2 separate regions of the Homo sapiens genome follow, and region 2 is linked to region 1. The links are contacts of gene promoters, found by promoter capture Hi-C in blood cells and fetal thymus (Javierre and others, 2016). All regions are on one chromosome and are shown on one strand. The core of a region is centred on a gene start or on the middle of the fragment in contact, and the rest is flanking DNA. Distances in the headings are between cores, read along the strand shown.

The links. Contacts are between HindIII fragments. The CHiCAGO score rates a contact against its expected background, and 5 or more counts as called.
Region 2: a contact is called between a fragment that was not itself captured here and the fragment with the promoter of ZRANB3 in region 1, in 1 of 17 cell types (total B cells). The highest score is 9.6, in total B cells.

What each region holds. Positions count from the first base shown.
Region 1 is chr2:135,529,417-135,533,786 of GRCh38, forward strand. ZRANB3 (zinc finger RANBP2-type containing 3) reads right to left here and starts at 1,802. Exons shown (of 21, transcript NM_032143.4): 1 at 1,711-1,802. R3HDM1 (R3H domain containing 1) reads left to right here and starts at 2,068. Exons shown (of 27, transcript NM_001378107.1): 1 at 2,068-2,217. RefSeq lists enhancers at 1,115-1,194, 1,545-1,814, 1,783-2,077 and a silencer at 2,045-2,234. The HindIII fragment of the contact is 14,144 bases long and covers 1-1,955 here.
Region 2 is chr2:134,260,148-134,264,449 of GRCh38, forward strand. The region is part of intron 1 of MGAT5 (alpha-1,6-mannosylglycoprotein 6-beta-N-acetylglucosaminyltransferase); the gene reads left to right. Among named protein-coding and RNA genes, the nearest start is that of MGAT5, 8.2 kb to the left of the region's middle. RefSeq lists an enhancer at 1,564-1,613. The HindIII fragment of the contact is 1,342 bases long and covers 1,942-3,283 here.

The sequences.
Region 1 (4,370 bases), core at 552-3,051:
TGTGGCCGATGAATAAAGGCATCTTTTTAGTGATGCCTTTATTCATCGGTGTATTATAGTTGGCACCCTGTAGTCACACGTTTTTTGTTTTTGTTTTTGTTTTGAGACGGAGTCTCGCTCTGTCACCCGAGGCTGGAGTGCAGTGGCGCGATCTCGGGTCACTGTAACCACTTCCGAAGTTGAAGCGATTCTCCTGCCTCAGCCTCCCGTGTAGCTGGGACTACAGATCCTACAGATCTCTGCCACCACGTCCGGCTAATGTGTGTGTGTGAGTTTTTAGCAGACACAAGATTTCACCATGTTGCCCAGGCTGGTCTCGAACTCCTGACCTCAAGTAATCCTCCCGCCTCGGCCTCCCAAAGTGCTAGGATTACAGGTCTGAGCCACCGCGCCTGTCTGCCACTCGTTTAATAAATGGTCGTTACTCAAAGAGTGGTGATGGGGCCACTCTTGATTATCAATCCTTCAAACAGAAAAGCCCTTTTCTGTGACTCTTTTCCTTCCAAGCTGACTTTAGAAGTGTGTTTGTGGCCGGGCGCGGTGGCTCACGCCTGTAATCCCAGCACTTTGGGAGGCCAAGGTGGGCGGATCACGAGGTCAGGAGATCGAGACCATCCTGGCCAACATGGTGAAACCCCGTCTCTACTAAAAATACAAAAAATTAGCTGGGCTGAGTGGCGCGCGCCTGTAATCCCAGCTACTCCGGAGGCTGAGACAGGAGAATGGCGTGAATCAGTGAGCCAAGATCCCACCACTGCACTCCAGCCTGGGGACAGAGCAAGACTCCGTCTCAAAAAAAAAAAAAAAAAGTGTGTCTGTAAATGTAGTTCAGAACTTCGGAGCCCTGTCTTTACAGTTCAAACTGACCACGCGAAGACTAAAGGCAGTAGAGGTACTTTCTACAAATTTAGCCGTGCAATCTAATAGCGAGCAGGCCGAGACGCCCGCGATTGAAGGCCGGGGTGGAGAAAGTAATAAGGGCCCTGGAAATTACCCCCATCCCATGTCACCCACTCTTTCTTAAAATGCCATTAAATTCCGTTCAACTTTTTATCTCCCATGCAAGAAACTAGCGACTTGCCAGCCACGCCACTTCCAGCCAGTCACACCTGGCGTATTCGCCGCAGAATCTCCAACTCCCGCCACAGGTTTGGGACGTGTCCGCCCCTAAGCGGAAGTGACGTTCAACGGGACAACGTGAAAGTAGATGAGTTTAAATACGTACTAATAATTTAAAACCCCTATGGTATTTTGAGGAAACTCTTCCGGCTACCCTTCTTCCATCACTTCTCTCCCGTTAGGGTTGCGAAAAGGGCTCTGTACAGCCTCGCGACAACTCGTTCTCCGCCCTAATTTCAAGTCATTCAAAACTCTGTCCCTTTTCATTGGCTGAAGCGGCGGCATGGGTACCTCTCAGGAACTACAATTCCAGCCAAGCACCGCGACAAGTGAACGGAGGAGAAGTTATGAGTAGGGGAAAAGCATGTTGGGAATCGTAGTCCGCTCCAGGCCGAAAAGAGCAATCACCCCGCCCTCCGCCACTGAAGCTGGAGAAACCAGGTGTTCGTTTCAGAACCCGTTAGCGCTAAGGGGAGGAGCCAACCCCTTAAGCAGCATGCCTCACTTCGCCCCACATGGAGGATAATTTTCCTTTACCCCTAAAAAGCACTATAAATACCCACTGAGGAGATCTGGTTGTCTTTTAAATACCTCGAGTCAGTAAAAACTCACGAAACTCCGCACCTCAGGCTCCAACTCGTGGGAAAAGGTAGCTCTTTTACAAGTGGGCAAAATGGCTGTCCTCCTAGTTTTACCATTGGTTGGCTTTTGCGTCCTTCAAGGGCGGTTACTTACCACGGATTGGTTCTTTTTCTCTTGAGGTTGGAGGAAGATTTGGCACGGCTCTCCGCGGCCTGGGAGGAGGTAAAGGGGTGGAGAGAAGACAGTTTTTTTCAAGCTTGATTGGGCAAAACTCATGTCACTCCGGGGACGTACAACCTATGAATAGTCGGCTGCCGCTCAAAGAGAACGAAGAGGCGGGGCTAGTGCGTGGTGGGAAGGGGCGGGATTCTGCCAGCCGCGGCTGCCGCTGGAGCCGGTGTCCGGGCTGGTGATGGGGTTAATTCCCTTTCGTAAGACTCTTACTTGCACCCACCCAGCCCCGCCGTCGCCCCGCCGCGCCGCGCTCCAACCGCCTCCTCCTCCTCAGTAACGCGGGTAAGAGATGCCCTTCCCTCCCCCGTCCAGCTCCCCGGGAATAACGCGCCTTGCTCCCCTCCCCCGCCCGCCAACCGGTAGCGCTAACGGAGAAGGAGGCAGGCAGGGGAGAGATGTGGTGTGTGGAAAGGTGGCCTTCCCCGCCGGGTCGTCGGCGCTTCAGCCAGGGCCTTCTGACGTCCCGCTGCTGCCAGCCCGCCGTTAGGTCGGGTTCCGAGTGAGCCAGGCTCGCCTGGCCCGCGGCTGCGGCTCCGGCTGCAGCTGCAGCCACTGCCTTGTGCCCACCGCCCCCACCCGGGGGCCATGTGAAAAGCAAACCCCTCGAGGCCTAGCGGAGGAGGCAGGGGAAAGGTTTCCGAGTCCCTGCCATGGCTGCTGCTGCTGCCTCCGCGGCTGCTCTTGCAGCCCCAGGGACTCGGGAGCCAGCCACAGCAGGCCTGCCAAGAGCGTGGTACTGCTCTCTCGTGTGGCTGGCGCCGGTGCCCCGGGCTCCCCCGGCCGCCCCACGGCCGCATCCCCTGGCCTTGCACCAAGAGAATTTTCAGCTTCGACCGGTTGGTAAAATGTAGGTACATTTTCCCTGTGGTACCAGAAAAAGCACAATGGGAATATTAAAAAGAAAGTTGAATGACTGTCAGTGCCACGGTCCCCCGGGATCAGATTTACACACGTTTTGATTCCTGAGCCTTAGGCTGCCAACAAATCTTTGTGGGCTTTGAAGTTTTTTGGTGTTTTGTTTTCTTTTGTTGCTGTGACTAGGTGCAAAGGGTGACTCTGTTGAGCTTGTTTTTATAAAGAAACTTAAATTATTGGGACTATCATGCTCCGTGTGTAATTGTCCTGGGATAGTTAAGTAAAAGGTGAAGAAGAGGTGCTTTCCAAATTAGGATTAGTGAACAGCAAATGGTTTTTCTAATAAAATTTTCTAAATATATATATATATATCTTCATGGTTATAGTTTACCTAATTGTAACTGTAAGAAACCTTTTTTAGCTTAAATATCATTGATGACAAAAACTTTTAAATGAAAAGATGATTAAAGTCAAACTGAAAGTCTACCCATTTATAATATGTGAAACAAGATCTTCTAAGTAATAGGATACCAGTCTGACAGGAATAATTGGACACGTCTCAATTTCTAAAAATTTGGCATATTTGGCTATTTTTAGGGCATTCTGTTATGATTTCTTCATCACATTTTGATGGAGTACGCTCGTCTTTTCAAATACCACTCTGCTTTTATGCCTGGAAGAATATGTCTTTAAATCATGGATTCTATAGTCTGTAGTAGACATAACTGTGATCAGAGATAAAATTCTAGGCCCATTTCTGAGGTTTACTTGTTAGCAGAATAAACTTGGGTTCTGAGGAAACATCTGAGTTTTGATCATTTCTTCAGGGTTTGAGAAGACTATGGTGGCTTAATGATCTTCTGTATTCCATAACTAGTACACCTAGTTACAGAATTGACATAGATACATTCAGGTCCTGGAGGAAATTTGTGGTATCTATTAAAAAAATGAAAATTGCCAGTCATGTAGTAGTCACCTGTAGTCCCTGCTACTCAGGAGTGTGAGGTGAGAGGATCACTTGAGCCCAGGAGTTCAAGGCCAGCCTAGGCAATATAGCAGAACATGGTCTCAAAAAAATAAAGAAATAAATACACAGCCTTGGAAGGCAAGTCCCCTGAGATCCCCACAGAGTTCCTGTAACATATATTGCCAGCTGCCAGCATAGTATTTTCCAGAACTTAAGAGTTAATTGATAAATTATACAATCGATACTTTCAGATCTTGGGTGATTTATATAGAGAAAGAGCTGTTGAAAATTTAGGAGTCTTCTACATTTTCTTCCTGGCTGTTGGATCCCTCCATGAACCTCAGTTCGGTTTCCTCATCTGTAAAATGAGGATGATAATGCTTAACTTAGGGAGTTATGAAAATTAGAGATAAATATATAATAGTGGCCGGGCGCGTTGGCGCACCTGTAATCCCAGCACTTTGGGAGGCTGGGCGGGCGGATCACCTGAGGTCGGGAGTTGGAGACCAGCCTGACCAACATGGAGAAACCCCGTCTCTACTGAAAATACAAAAAATTAGTCGCTCATGGTGGCGGGCACCTGTAATCTCAGCTACTCGGGAGGCTGAGACAG
Region 2 (4,302 bases), core at 1,363-3,862, 1.3 Mb before region 1:
TGAGGCAGTGAGAAGCCGGCAGCTTATGCAGAGCCCTGTAGGCTATGACTTCTGGTATCAATATGGATGTTCTTATGCAGAAACCAGATGTTGACCTCACCCTATAGTTCACTGCTTTCTCTATGGGAGGAAGGAAGTTTTTTCCTTAAGGAGGCACACACGCCGGTTGGAGAACCAGCATAGGGCTTTTGGTTGCTGGTTGGGGGCAGTGGAGAGGTAACTGCTTTGGACTTCCGATTGGCCCTCATTGGCTTGGGATGCTATGTCTAAGATGTTAATACCATTTAGGGCTGCCGAAGATTGCTCTGAAAGGTTAGCAGCTGCCCTGTGTTGCAGATCCAGATAACGTTCTGAGATTCGAATGAGAGCTTTTGCAAGTGTTTCCTTCCACCTCTCTTGTGAAAAAGGAACAAAAACAGGTTGGATTTCATTAAAGATGCAAGCATGTAAAGGGTTTTTTAGTTTGTTTTGTTTTTCCACTTTTTTTTTGTGTCTCTCTTCCTACAAATAGGGAAATATGGTCAAGGAATAGGAATGGTTTCTTTTTTCTTTTTCTTTTTTTTTTTTTTTTGAGGGCTGGGACTGTTGTGGGATAATGTGGAAAACCACTGTTGCCAAAGTAGAAATCCCCTGCCCTTGAGGGAAATACACTGTTCTTGAAGTGAAAATGGTAGGGAAAAAAATAGCTGGGCTGTTCAGTGTGTCTGAGAAGGCTTTTAGTTACTGTATGGTGACGTGGCTGGTGTGATTAAAGAAAGGGCTTTCTGCTTTAAAAAGCTTGGAACCTAAAAATGGGCCTCTCTGTGGCTTGGGACTTTTCCAGCCATCCTGTGGTAGAGTCCAGCCTGCCCAGTATCCTCATCAAAGCCAGGCCAAGTTCACAAGCACGCCCAGGCCAGTCAAAAGGTCTGAGGAAGACCTCAGAAATGTTTTAGACAGGAGGAGTAAACTCAGAATAAGGGGCTCATTCTTCTACCCCTCAGTCATTAAGACCCTTTCTTTCATGCAGCACCACTACTTCAAGTCTGGATTGAGGAGGGATTGCACGCACATGTGTGAGGTTGGAGTCTCAATCTCAATGTGATTGTCATTGCCATGTTCAAACGATGAGGCTTAGAATGTCCCTTGTCTTACCTGATGGTCATAGCTCTCTATGACCCTCTGCTTCTTCCCAGCTGTGTCCTGGTGCTCTTTTGCTGTCAGAAGTGCTTGAGCAGACCTCTTGCTGCTGTGGACACCCTAAAAAGCTCCGCACCCCCTCAAGTCTACTAAGGCATGGTGGCTCTCTTCTAGGACAAGACTGTTGGGTGGTGGCTGAGCATTCGCCTGTCTTTGAGCGTCTGCATTTGCTCTCCCCCACCCCTTCCTCTCTTCCTTCTTTGTTTGTAAATAAAGTTGGTTAGAACACAGCCATGCGCATTCCATTCTGTTTCAGAGAAGTTAGCCTTCCCTCCTTCACAGGAGGGCCCAAACCCACTGTTACTCTCATTCTTTATAACACTCAAGCTACTTAGCATCAAGTATTTGTTGTATGAGCTGATCATGTGTCTCTCCCACTTACAATGTAAGTTCTGAAAGAGGAGGGACTTTGGTCTGTTTTGTTCCCCACTGTGCCCCAGAGCTTAGTACCTTTTGCCTGGCACATAGTAAGAGCCATGAATGAATAGCAGCAGCCCCTGGTGAAACTCTGTGATGCTCTGTGTGGTACAGTTACAGCTGGGACTCATTTGAAAATCACAGTAATGTTTTTAGTGAAGCAGGAAATGAGAAGAAATTCCCTATGGGCTCTGCATCTAAGAGGCTCCAAGTAGCTCTTATGCATGATCCTAACATGGGAACCATTGTTTATTCTGGAAGGTAGTTAGTGTTTCTGTTGGGCGGATGGAACACATTGTGTTCCTTACTGATGTGTGACCTTGAACAAGTCACCGATCATCTTAAAGCTTACTTCCTCTTTTGTAAAACAGACAATATAATATCATTTAACCTCATAGGCTTGTTGTAAGGATTACAAATGACAAAGTTTATTAAGGCACTTAGATTAATTTAGATTATTCTTGTTCTTTTTTTTTGGTGTTGTTTTTGTTTTATTTTGTTTTGTTTTGTTTTGGAGATAGAGTCTTGCTCTGTCACCAAGGCTGAAGTACAGTAGTGTGATCAGGCTCTAGCAACCTCCCCCTCCCAGACTCAAGCCTTATGCCCACCTCAGCCTCCAGAGTAGCTGGGACTATAGGCATGTGCCACCACACTAGGCTAATTTAAAACAAAAGTTTTTTTCTGAAGATGGAGTCTCACTGTATTGCCCAGGCTGGTCTCAAACTCCTGGCCTCAAGTGATCCTCCCATCTCAGCCTCCAGAGTAGCTGGGACTATAGGCATGTGCCACCACACTAGGCTAATTTAAAACAAAAGTTTTTTTTCTAAAGATGGAATCTCACTGTATTGCCCAGGCTGGTCTCAAACTCCTGGCCTCAAGCGATCCTCCCACCTCAGCCTTCCAAAGTGCTGGGATTACAGGTGTGAGCCACTGTGCCCAACCAGCGCTTAATTAAAATGCATTCATTCCTATTAGTAATCACTAACTCTGGCTTGAATGTACCTGCATCTGTTACCACCCAGGCATAACTGTTCATGTAGATCTGACGTTGTTCATTTGTTTGAACACAGGGCTTCAGCAACCTGTTTATGTAGCTATTCTTAGCATTTACAGGGGTAGAGCCTGACCAGACATGAGAGGAAATATGCTCTGTTTCAGAAGAGGTCAGGCTTGCCACCACCCTACTAAACTAGGAGATGTGGTTGTCATTGCCCTGTTCAAAAGATACAGTTTTCTTCTGTGGGCTGTAAGATAAGCTGGGTATGGCCAAGTTCACCTTTGGATCTAACCAGGGCATTGGTGGTGGTGGTGTTTCTGGCATGGTACAGCAAGCAGGAAGCAGTAGTGTGCGAGGCCACCCTTTCCAAGAAGGTGCGGGCCCTGGCATCAGGTGGGGGACAATGGATAACAATAGGCTTGACCTCTCAGCACTTCTCTGATTCCTTATCTTTTCTATAAAAAAGGCTAAAATTCTTGGTTCCTATTCCCTGCAGCTGGCTACATGTTAGGAAAATTCAAAGAATAGCTTAAGAACTCTATTCAGGTTCCATAAAGCACTTAATATCATCAACAGGCCTAGAAAGGATCTTTTACCAGATTTCGATGCATGGAAACTTCCTCAATAGTAATGACACCCTCTGCAACACCTTAGGAAAAACATTCGCTTCTGGGCACAAGTTCTGGTGAAAGCTTAAATCTGTAGTTCTAACCCAGAAGAGAAGGCTAGTCAGTGTTGCTGAGCATCTGAGCTGCTCTTTGACTTTGGTGATAATTGTTTTATGCCCTTTTCTGTCCAGAATCTGCTGACTGGGACAACTGCAGGGTGGAAGCCACCTTTTTGTCAGTTCAGGAGCAGGCAAATTATCTAACATGTGGCTTTAAAATTCAAATGAGATAAGGCAGTAAGGGTCACTAAGATGTTTCTGGTGGGTATTGCCTTACATGACTTTAGGGTACTGGTGGCACTATCTTTGATTCTTAAGAGTACAATTCATTGTACTATGTATATATATTTAAAATAACACTTAATGCCTTTGTGACTTTGAAAATAATGTGAATTTTTATGTAAAATTAAAGCATATGAGGAAGTATGGAGAAGAATAAAGAATAAATACACTCTTTACCTCTAAATGCAGATCTTACCAGATAAAATTGATTTCCCTTTAGTTCTTTAAAAAAAAAAAGTGATACGTACATGTGTGTATATGTGTATATATGTACATGAATATATGCTTTTTTAAAAATTAAGATACTGCATTTCCTTATGCCATTAGGTTTTTTTTTTTTTTTTTTTTTTGAGATGGAGTTTCACTCTTGTTGCCCAGGCTGAAGTGCAATGGCACGATCTCGGCTCGCCGCAATCTCCGCCTCCCAGGTTCAAGCGATTCTCCTGCCTCAGCCTCCTTAGTAGCTGGGATTACAGGCATGTGCCACCATGCCCAGTTAATTTTGTATTTTTAGTAGAGACGGGGTTTCTCCATGTTGGTCAGGCTGGTCTCAAACTCCCGACCTCAGGTGATCGGTCCCCCTCGGCCTCCCAAAGTGCTGGGATTACAGGCATGAGCCACCGCACCCGGCCAGCCATTAAGTATTTTTGATGACTGTATACTTTTCGTTTTTTATCCATCCACTTAACAAATATTTATTGAACTCCTGATATTAATAGCTAGTGGCTGTAAACAGAGATGACAAGCAGACTTGGTCTCT